2 separate regions of the Homo sapiens genome follow, and region 2 is linked to region 1. The links are contacts of gene promoters, found by promoter capture Hi-C in blood cells and fetal thymus (Javierre and others, 2016). All regions are on one chromosome and are shown on one strand. The core of a region is centred on a gene start or on the middle of the fragment in contact, and the rest is flanking DNA. Distances in the headings are between cores, read along the strand shown. Region 1 holds the start of CFL1 (cofilin 1). Region 2 holds the start of ZNHIT2 (zinc finger HIT-type containing 2).

Region 1 (3,795 bases), core at 1,296-3,795:
ACGCCCGCGGGACTGGGACGCCGCCAGTTCTGGAGTCGGGATTCGAACACCTGGCCCAGGGCGGGGCGGGGGAAGAGGGAGACCGAGGGCAGGACCGTTGAGATCACGGGGCCCCAAACACAGGGGGCACTAACGAGAGGAGAGCCTGCGGCCGCCCTCCCACCCCTGCGCTGCTCTAAGTGGTTGGTCAGGGGCGCTGTCTCTAACGATCTTTTCCCTTGGCTCCACTCCAGCCAGCCTTTGAGACGCGCCCTTTCCCAGCCCCCGGAGCCTGGACCGGCTCCTTCCTGTCACCCCAGATTCGAGAGCGGGGTCTTTGTGTAGGCGAGAGGAAGGCGGACAGCGCCCCCTGTGACGGGGAGGACTGGCTGGGCGGCGCTTAACGGACTAACCTGAGCTTGGCGGCTCTAAGGTCTCTTAAGATTGTCAGCTTCAGCCTCAAGCTTGAAGGAGGCTGGAGATGGAGACTGGTCTTGAAAAGAGTCCAGGAGAGGCGGGGGCTAGGAGACAAACGGGTGCAAACGTATTGGTGGGAGGGACACCCAGAAATGGGTGCCGGGGATGAGGACACAAAGGTAAGGCAGGAGGAGCTGCAGGACCCTTGGAGGAAATGGTGATCCTCATCCCCGGGATACAGGGCAAAGAGTGTGTGGTGGAGAGGAAGTCGGGGACGTGCCGAGAAGGCCCAAAATAGAACTCGGAATGTCGGGGGTCAGAGGCCTAGAGGAAGGAGGACTGTAAGTAAGAGGTGCTTGGGCATCCTGGCAGTTGGGGAGGCCTGAGATGGGCACGCGGTTGGGTTTGGGAGCGGAGGAGCAGGCTGCGGGTTAAGAAGCCCAGACACAGGTAGAGGGGAGAACACTTCGTCATTTTTGTGGCTAATCGGAAGTGGGAGACCCTCAGGGAGGTTGAAGATGGAAACCCTACAAAGGGCTTCAACCTGAGAAGCCTGAAAGACACGTATAGCTGAGTTGGACACAGGCGACCCGCCAGGGTTTGAAGCAGCACCCGGCCTCTAGCTGCTATGCCGGAAGTCGCAACACGCAGGTCTCCAGCCTGCGAGGAAGGGAGAGGTGGGCGCCAGAGCTCCAGTCCCGCCCCTCAGGACTGTGCCTAGCCCACGGCGCAGTAGCCCCAGCCAAGCTAAATTGGACCAATGGGCTCCGGCTCCCGCCTCCCGCCCGCCGCGGCCTTATAAGGAGCCTCAAGCCGGCTGTCGGGCTGGCCCCGCCCCCTCGAGTCTCTTGTCCTAATAAGGACATCTAGGGCATCCCGCGGCTGGGGGCGGGCGAGAGCGCGTCTCCAGGGTAACTGCGAAGCCCCCCTCTCTCTCCCCGTTGCTCTTGGAAACTCTAAGGCTCAGAAAAGGGGGCGCTAGCCTCATATTCATGTAGGGTCGCTCGCGGGAGGCGGGGTCAAGCTGCTGTCTCCACCTGGAGCGCCGGGAGTCCGGGCGGGGGCGGTGCTGTGGAATGTCCCCGACTACAACCCCCGGTATGCTCTGCAAGGTACCCCACTCCCAGGCATCGCTCTCCGTTTACACCCTTAATTCCGTTTATAGGATTAGGGCCCCCAGTTCCCTTTCTGGGTTTGCCTCTGACTTGTTTGCGACCCAGTCTTTTCCTGCAGAGTGTGAGGCTGTGGTCACTGTTCTAGAACAACAAAATCATCCCGGAGTCCCCCGCTCGTTTCTTTTTTTTTTTAAGGCATATACTACCACAGAACTTGTCTCAGTTTTGCGGATGTTAGAATAACCATGTACCTGGCTATCAACTCGAGAGCTGGGTTCAAGTCTGGTTTAATATCTATTTCTTCTCATTGGCACGTAAAGGCATGTAAAGAAGCCTTGAATTGAATGCACAAACCCTCGTCTTTACCCTTTAACGCCTCATGACTTTGCCAAACATCTTTAAACAAGAACAAAGCTCTCAGAGATTTCCTTGTACCTTTCCCCTGTGCCTTTTCCTCCTATTCTTGTTTTACTGACGTTGGACATGGCCTTTTTTCAGGAGACGAGAGTGGCTTTACACATGCAGAGTACTAGTGTTTATCCGACTGACGACGCCTTCATACTTGTGATTTCCTTTGCTTTAGGTCGGGATTCCAGGCTAATCAATAGTTGCTTCGATTCAGAAATGCAAAACCCTAACCTCACTCAAAAATTTCAGGCCAAGGGATCCAGATAATACCAGATGGGTCTTAAGAAAGCCGTTTTGCTGTGGGATAAAGAGCCGCTTAGTCGGGGATCGTTTTCGGGTCATTTTACTGAGCGCCGCCTCGCCGGGCTCAGAGCGGTTCCTGGGAAATTGGACCAATGGGCTCGCGCTGCGCGCTGCGGTGCCGCCCAGGACCTGGGCCTACATTTCCCTACATGCACTGCAGCTCGGAGCCGGCCGGCGGGAAGACTCCGTTACCCAGCGAGCGAGGCGGCGGCGCAGGGCCAGCGGACTCCATTTCCCGTCGGCTCGCGGTGGGAGCGCCGGAAGCCCGCCCCACCCCTCATTGTGCGGCTCCTACTAAACGGAAGGGGCCGGGAGAGGCCGCGTTCAGTCGGGTCCCGGCAGCGGCTGCAGCGCTCTCGTCTTCTGCGGCTCTCGGTGCCCTCTCCTTTTCGTTTCCGGAAACATGGTGAGCGGCAGGCCACGGCGCCTGAGGGAGGCGGCTGCGGGTCGGTCGCCTGCGCGCGGGAAGCGACTGGGGAGCGACGTCCGCACCCCCTCCCCCAGCGCCCCGGGCGGGATGAGGGTCTCGCACGAAGGGGCGGGCGGTGCCGGAATGCGCGTGCGCGCCCGTGGGCGCCGGGGAGGGCCGGTCTGGACGTCGCTCGCGCTCCGCCTGGGCTCCCCTCCCCCACCCGCTGGTGCGCCCGCGCGGACACCGGCCGCGGGGGGAGGGGTTCGGGGCGCGCGCTGGGGCGCCCCTCGCGGAACGGCCGGCGTCGCGCCTTTCTTCTTAGGGGCGCGCTCTCGACTGGAGCATGCGGCGTCCAAACCCGGCCCGGGGGCGGCGAGGAAAAAGCGCGCGAGAGGTCTCGGCGCGCGCGCCCCACCCAAGGCTGTTCCTGTCTGCGCGTCACCCTCCCTCGGCAGCCGGGTCCGTCTCGGGAGCAGGTGGCAGGGATGCCTGCGCCCGGGAGGGGCGGGTGCTGGCGCGGCGAGGGGTGATGCTGGGAAGACGGGGTCCCGGTTGGGGCGTGGGTGCCTGCGATTAAGGCCTTGCACCGCAAGGCTTGGAGGGGGCATCGCAGAGACCGCGGCCCGTTCGGGAGCGCATCTAACGAGCTGCGTTCTCACCCGTGCATCGGGCGAGGGCTGGAACGGCGCTGTCTGTCGGCGCGTGCGCGCACGCTCAGGCCCGGCCGCCGGTGCCGAAGCCCTGGGCCAGCGAGGCCTTCCCGGATGGGCCTGAGTGAGGGTGGAGCCGAGTTTAGGGAAGTGACCCAGGCGGGCACCGCCCGGAAACCACCCCGCCCCCTGTATACGGCCCGAGGGCTGAGAAAACCGAAGGTTATGTAGCTTGCCCAGGCTCCTGCCTGCAGGAGATGGGTCTGATACACCCGTTGTTTTAGGGCGATTCCACAGGGTTAGGGACCTGGAGATGCTGCTGCCTCTCGGATACGCGTTTCTGCATTGGTGAGGGGGCCGGGCCCAGCCGATCTCCTGTCCCCGCCCACTCCGGATGCGGCCGAGTCACGTGGCCGGCTTCTTCTGCAGTTCCGGGGAGTTTGGGGGACCAGATTTACCTTGGATTGCCCCTCCCTCTCCTGGCTCGGGCACCCCGAAGCACGACGCAGAG
Region 2 (4,575 bases), core at 801-3,300, 740 kb after region 1:
AGAGGTTTGTATAGAAGGTGAACCTGGCCGTTCCCTGAACTTGGTACCAGCTGTGGCCTTAGAGTCCAGGGCAGGAATCTGGTCTGCCTTGGTTTTAGAAGTAAATATTATGTTGGGAGCATGGCCTCGTTTGTACCTCTGTGACTGCCTGGCCGGACTTGGTAACCTAATCACATCTGTGATTGGATATAGTGAGGTTTCAGTGTTCCCAAAAGTTGGGTTACCTCTGGGGCTGATTCAGGGTTCTCTTCTGGCAACTGAGCCTCCCAGCACTTCTGAACCCCACTTACTCATTCAGCTAAAGTTTCTGGACCTGCCAGTTCTTGAGAAATAGCATCCAACAGGGTAAAGCCCTTGGGCTGTGGACTTTGACTGCCTGAGTTTGGACCTTCTTTTTCTTCCTACTCCATTTACTGGGTGGCTGGCCTTTGAACTAACTACTAATTTAATCTCTGCCATCTCCAGGGCTGCTGTGAGGGTTAAAGGATGTAAATCAACATCTGGCTTACAGTGAGTGTGTGAATCTTGGCTATTTTTGTCTCTGTGGTGTTAAAGACATGGTTTCTGCCTTCCAGCAGTTTAGAAAGGGGGAGGATGTGGACAGATACAATAGCATCCCAGAGAGGGCCTCTTTTTTTGTTTTTCTTTTTTCTTTATTTTATTTTATTGAGACAGAGTCTCGCACTGTCGCCAGGCTGGAGTGCAGTGGCACAATCCGAGCTCACTGCAACCTCAGCCTCCCGGGTTCACGCCATTCTCCTGCCTCAGCCCCCTGAGTAGCTGGGACTACAGGCATGTGCCACCACGCCCAGCTAATTTTTGTATTTTTAGTAGACATGGGGTTTCCCCATGTTGGCCAGGATGGTCTCGATCTCTTGACCTCGTGATCGCCCACCTCGGCCTCCCAAAGTACTGGGATTACAGCCATGAGCCACAGTGCCCGGCCTTTTCTTTTTTGTTTTTGAGACAAGGTCTCTCTCATCCAGGCTGGAGTGCAGTTGCACAATCATGGCTCACTGCAGCCGCCAACTCCTGGGCCCAGGTGATCCTACTCAGCCTCCAAAGTAGCTGAGGACTACAGGCATGCACCGCCACACCTGGCTAATTTTTTGTACTTTTTTGTAGAGACAGGGTTTTGCTATGTTGCCCAGGCTGGTCTTGAACTGGGCTCAAGTGATCCGCCCACCTTGGCCTCCCAAAGTGCTGAGATTACAGGTGTCAGCCGCTGTGCCCAGCCGAGAGGTCCTGTTTAAATGACGTGAGTGAGACCTGAGATGAACCAGTCAAGTGATCAGGTAGGGGAATATTTCAAGCCTAGAGGACTGTGTGAAGATGGGGAAGAGGTGATGTCTAGGGCTGGGGGCGGGCAGATCCTGCAAGGCCTTGTCAGCCATAGAGAGGAGTTTGGGTTTGAGTCCAAGTGCAATGGAGGGTCGCAGAAGGGTTTTGAGTAACAGATGGATCTCATCTGACTTGTGATCTAATTTCTCTGGCAGGTTTTTCTGGAGGGCTGGCAAGAAAGTTAGGAAAAACACTTAATGTGTTGTCATCCACATGAGGGGTCAGGAAGCTTAGACCACCAGTAGTAGCAGGGATGCAAAGAACACTCACAGTTTGGTTCATCACACCCCCCACTCCACCACAAGAGTGAGCTCTATTAGAACAGGGACCCCCGGCTCCCTTTGATGTGCATTGTGTTCTTGGCACCTAGAATGGGGCCTGCACTTAATAAGATGGATGAATAGTGGTATTTAATGAGAAGATACTTAATGAAAAGAAGAGGCAGTTTTGGAGGAAAAAAATCATAGGAGCTCAGATATTTCTTAAATGCTGCTTTCTATTTATCTTTTTGAGGTGGAGTTTCTCTCTGTGGCCCAGGCTCGCAGGCTGGAGAGCGGTGGCGCGATCTCGGCTAACTGCAGCCTCCACCTCCCGGGTTCAAGCGATTCCCCTGCCTCAGCCTCAGGAGTAGCTGGGACTACAAGCACCCGTCCCCCACGCCCGGCTAATTTTGTATTCTTAGTAGAGACGGGGTTTCTCCATGTTGGTCAGGCTGGTCTCAAACTCCTGACCTCAGGTCATCTGCCCGCCTCGGCCTCCCAAAATGCTGGGATTACCGGCGTGACCCACCGTACCTGGCCCTAACTGTCCTTTTATTTGTCTGTGTCCCCTAGTGCATTTTATTTGTCTGTGTCCAGCGCAGGGATGCATCGCCTCCCGTAGGCTTGGCACAATTAGTGGCCCAGAGTAGGTGCCTAGTAAAGATGGATTTATGCCACAGCACATTGTAGTGCTAAAAAGAGGGTTTTCTCTTTAGATGATCGGGCCACGTTTTGGTGTGACCACTAGGGGGAGACGTGGCACCGGCGAAGCGCTCGCCAGACCCATTTTTTCGCTCCTTGCGTCATCGCATAGGGCGGGGCTCGTACCTGACGCCCGGCTTCTGGGCCTGCTCTCGCCCTACTAGGGAAAGGGGTGGGGCTTGGCTTTCGGGCGTGGGCGGAAATTGCCGAGAATCCTCGGAAGCTTTGCGAAAACACAGCGCGCCGTCGGCCGCGCTGCGAACCGGAAGTAATCGAAGAAGCCCCGGAAGTTTCGAACTACCACCGGCGTGCGTTCGCAGGTAGATCGCGGTGCCAGTTGCCATGGAGCCGGCCGGGCCCTGTGGCTTCTGCCCGGCGGGGGAGGTCCAGCCAGCGCGTTACACCTGCCCTCGCTGTAATGCGCCCTACTGCTCGCTGCGCTGCTACCGGACGCATGGCACCTGCGCAGAAAACTTCTACCGTGACCAGGTGCTGGGAGAGCTCCGCGGTTGCAGCGCTCCTCCCAGCCGCCTAGCAAGCGCCCTACGCCGGCTGCGTCAGCAACGCGAGACCGAGGACGAGCCTGGGGAAGCAGGCCTCAGCTCCGGCCCGGCGCCCGGCGGCCTATCGGGACTCTGGGAGCGGCTGGCGCCGGGCGAAAAAGCTGCCTTCGAGCGGCTGCTGAGCCGCGGTGAGGCCGGGCGGCTGCTGCCTCCATGGCGGCCGTGGTGGTGGAACCGCGGAGCCGGACCGCAGCTTCTGGAGGAGCTGGATAATGCCCCGGGTAGTGACGCCGCGGAGCTGGAGCTCGCCCCTGCGAGGACCCCGCCGGATTCTGTGAAAGATGCCTCCGCCGCGGAGCCCGCGGCCGCCGAGCGGGTTCTTGGAGATGTCCCGGGGGCCTGCACGCCCGTCGTACCCACCCGCATCCCCGCGATAGTCAGCCTGAGCCGCGGCCCAGTCTCGCCGCTCGTGCGCTTCCAGCTGCCCAATGTGCTGTTCGCCTACGCGCATACTCTCGCCCTGTATCACGGCGGTGACGACGCGCTGCTCTCTGACTTCTGTGCCACACTGCTCGGCGTTTCCGGAGCCCTGGGTGCCCAGCAAGTCTTCGCCTCTGCGGAAGAAGCCCTGCAGGCGGCAGCCCACGTGCTGGAAGCAGGCGAGCACCCGCCGGGGCCCCTGGGCACACGAGGGGCTATGCACGAGGTCGCCCGCATCCTGCTGGGCGAGGGCCCGACCAACCAGAAAGGCTACACGCTGGCAGCACTGGGGGACCTGGCACAGACCCTGGGCCGTGCCCGGAAACAGGCCGTGGCTAGAGAAGAGCGAGATCATCTTTACCGGGCCCGGAAAAAGTGCCAGTTCCTCCTGGCCTGGACCAACGAAAATGAGGCGGCCCTCACACCCCTGGCCCTAGACTGCGCCAGGGCTCACCAAGCCCATGCTGTGGTAGCCGAGGAGGTGGCCGCCCTCACTGGGGAGCTGGAGCGGCTTTGGGGAGGCCCCGTGCCACCTGCCCCAAGAACTCTCATTGAGGAGCTCCCTAGCTGAACGGGTTACCCTGGTCATTAATAAAGCTGTGACTGGTCAGCCCTGTTGCTTGTTTCTGAGGGATAGCTATTGTCCCACCAGACCCCAGATTCCTGGGCCCACAAGCCACTGCTCAGCTTCTCCCTGATCAGTGCTGACCCAGCCAGTCCTAGGGGAGAGAAGTGCACCAAGGGTTCCCAGTGTTTATCCAAAGGAGGAAGAGCATCTCCGATTTTGGTCACTGGTTTCATTTTTTTCCTTGCTCTAAACCACCTCTTCTCTGAGGTTGTTCATCCTCAGGGCTGGGTGGGGTGCAAGCCCTTGAGTCCCAAGTGTGTCGAGGCTCCTGGTCCTGGGTGTGCTGGTGGATGAGTGGGCACATGCCCCCACCTGGGGTGGTGGAGCCGCTTCAGTAGATGTAGGGCATGATGCGGTAAGGCACACGCCGGCAGTACTCCTGCCAGGCCAGGCCGTACTTCTGCAGGCACTGCCGCTCATCCCGGGCCTCACGGTGCACCAGCAGCGCGGTGAAGTAGAGGAGGTAGAAGTAGGGCAGCAGGTGTGACACCCCTGTAGAGAAGGAGGCTCTGTGACCACCCTGCCGGCCCCTCCACCCCGCAGTTCACAAACGTTTCCACACCTCATGGCTCATGTGGGCATCGGGGCTCAGCAGCAAAAGCGCCAGGGTCTGCAGCAAAGCACACGGTACTAGGTTGGCACAGAGGTGTGCCCCAGCCAC

Evidence for each region. The method cuts DNA at HindIII sites, captures the fragments that hold promoters and counts their contacts. A CHiCAGO score of 5 or more calls a contact.
Region 2: a contact is called between a fragment that was not itself captured here and the fragment with the promoter of CFL1 in region 1, in 1 of 17 cell types (fetal thymus). The highest score is 5.3, in fetal thymus.

The regions. Positions count from the first base shown.
Region 1 is chr11:65,856,930-65,860,724 of GRCh38, reverse strand. CFL1 (cofilin 1) reads left to right here and starts at 2,545. Exons shown (of 4, transcript NM_005507.3): 1 at 2,545-2,628. The coding sequence starts at 2,626. MUS81 (MUS81 structure-specific endonuclease subunit) reads right to left here and starts at 292. Exons shown (of 16, transcript NM_025128.5): 1 at 1-292. RefSeq lists silencers at 1-39, 1,090-1,169, 2,580-2,979 and enhancers at 1-269, 1,340-1,429, 1,990-2,059, 2,450-2,499, 2,433-2,973 and 2 more. The HindIII fragment of the contact is 11,606 bases long and covers 446-3,795 here.
Region 2 is chr11:65,115,724-65,120,298 of GRCh38, reverse strand. ZNHIT2 (zinc finger HIT-type containing 2) reads left to right here and starts at 2,598. Exons shown (of 1, transcript NM_014205.4): 1 at 2,598-3,896. The coding sequence starts at 2,646. The coding sequence ends at 3,857. TM7SF2 (transmembrane 7 superfamily member 2) reads right to left here. Exons shown (of 10, transcript NM_003273.6): 10 at 4,069-4,406. The coding sequence ends at 4,246. RefSeq lists enhancers at 2,348-2,642, 2,635-3,178, 3,725-4,269, 4,270-4,575. The HindIII fragment of the contact is 956 bases long and covers 1,573-2,528 here.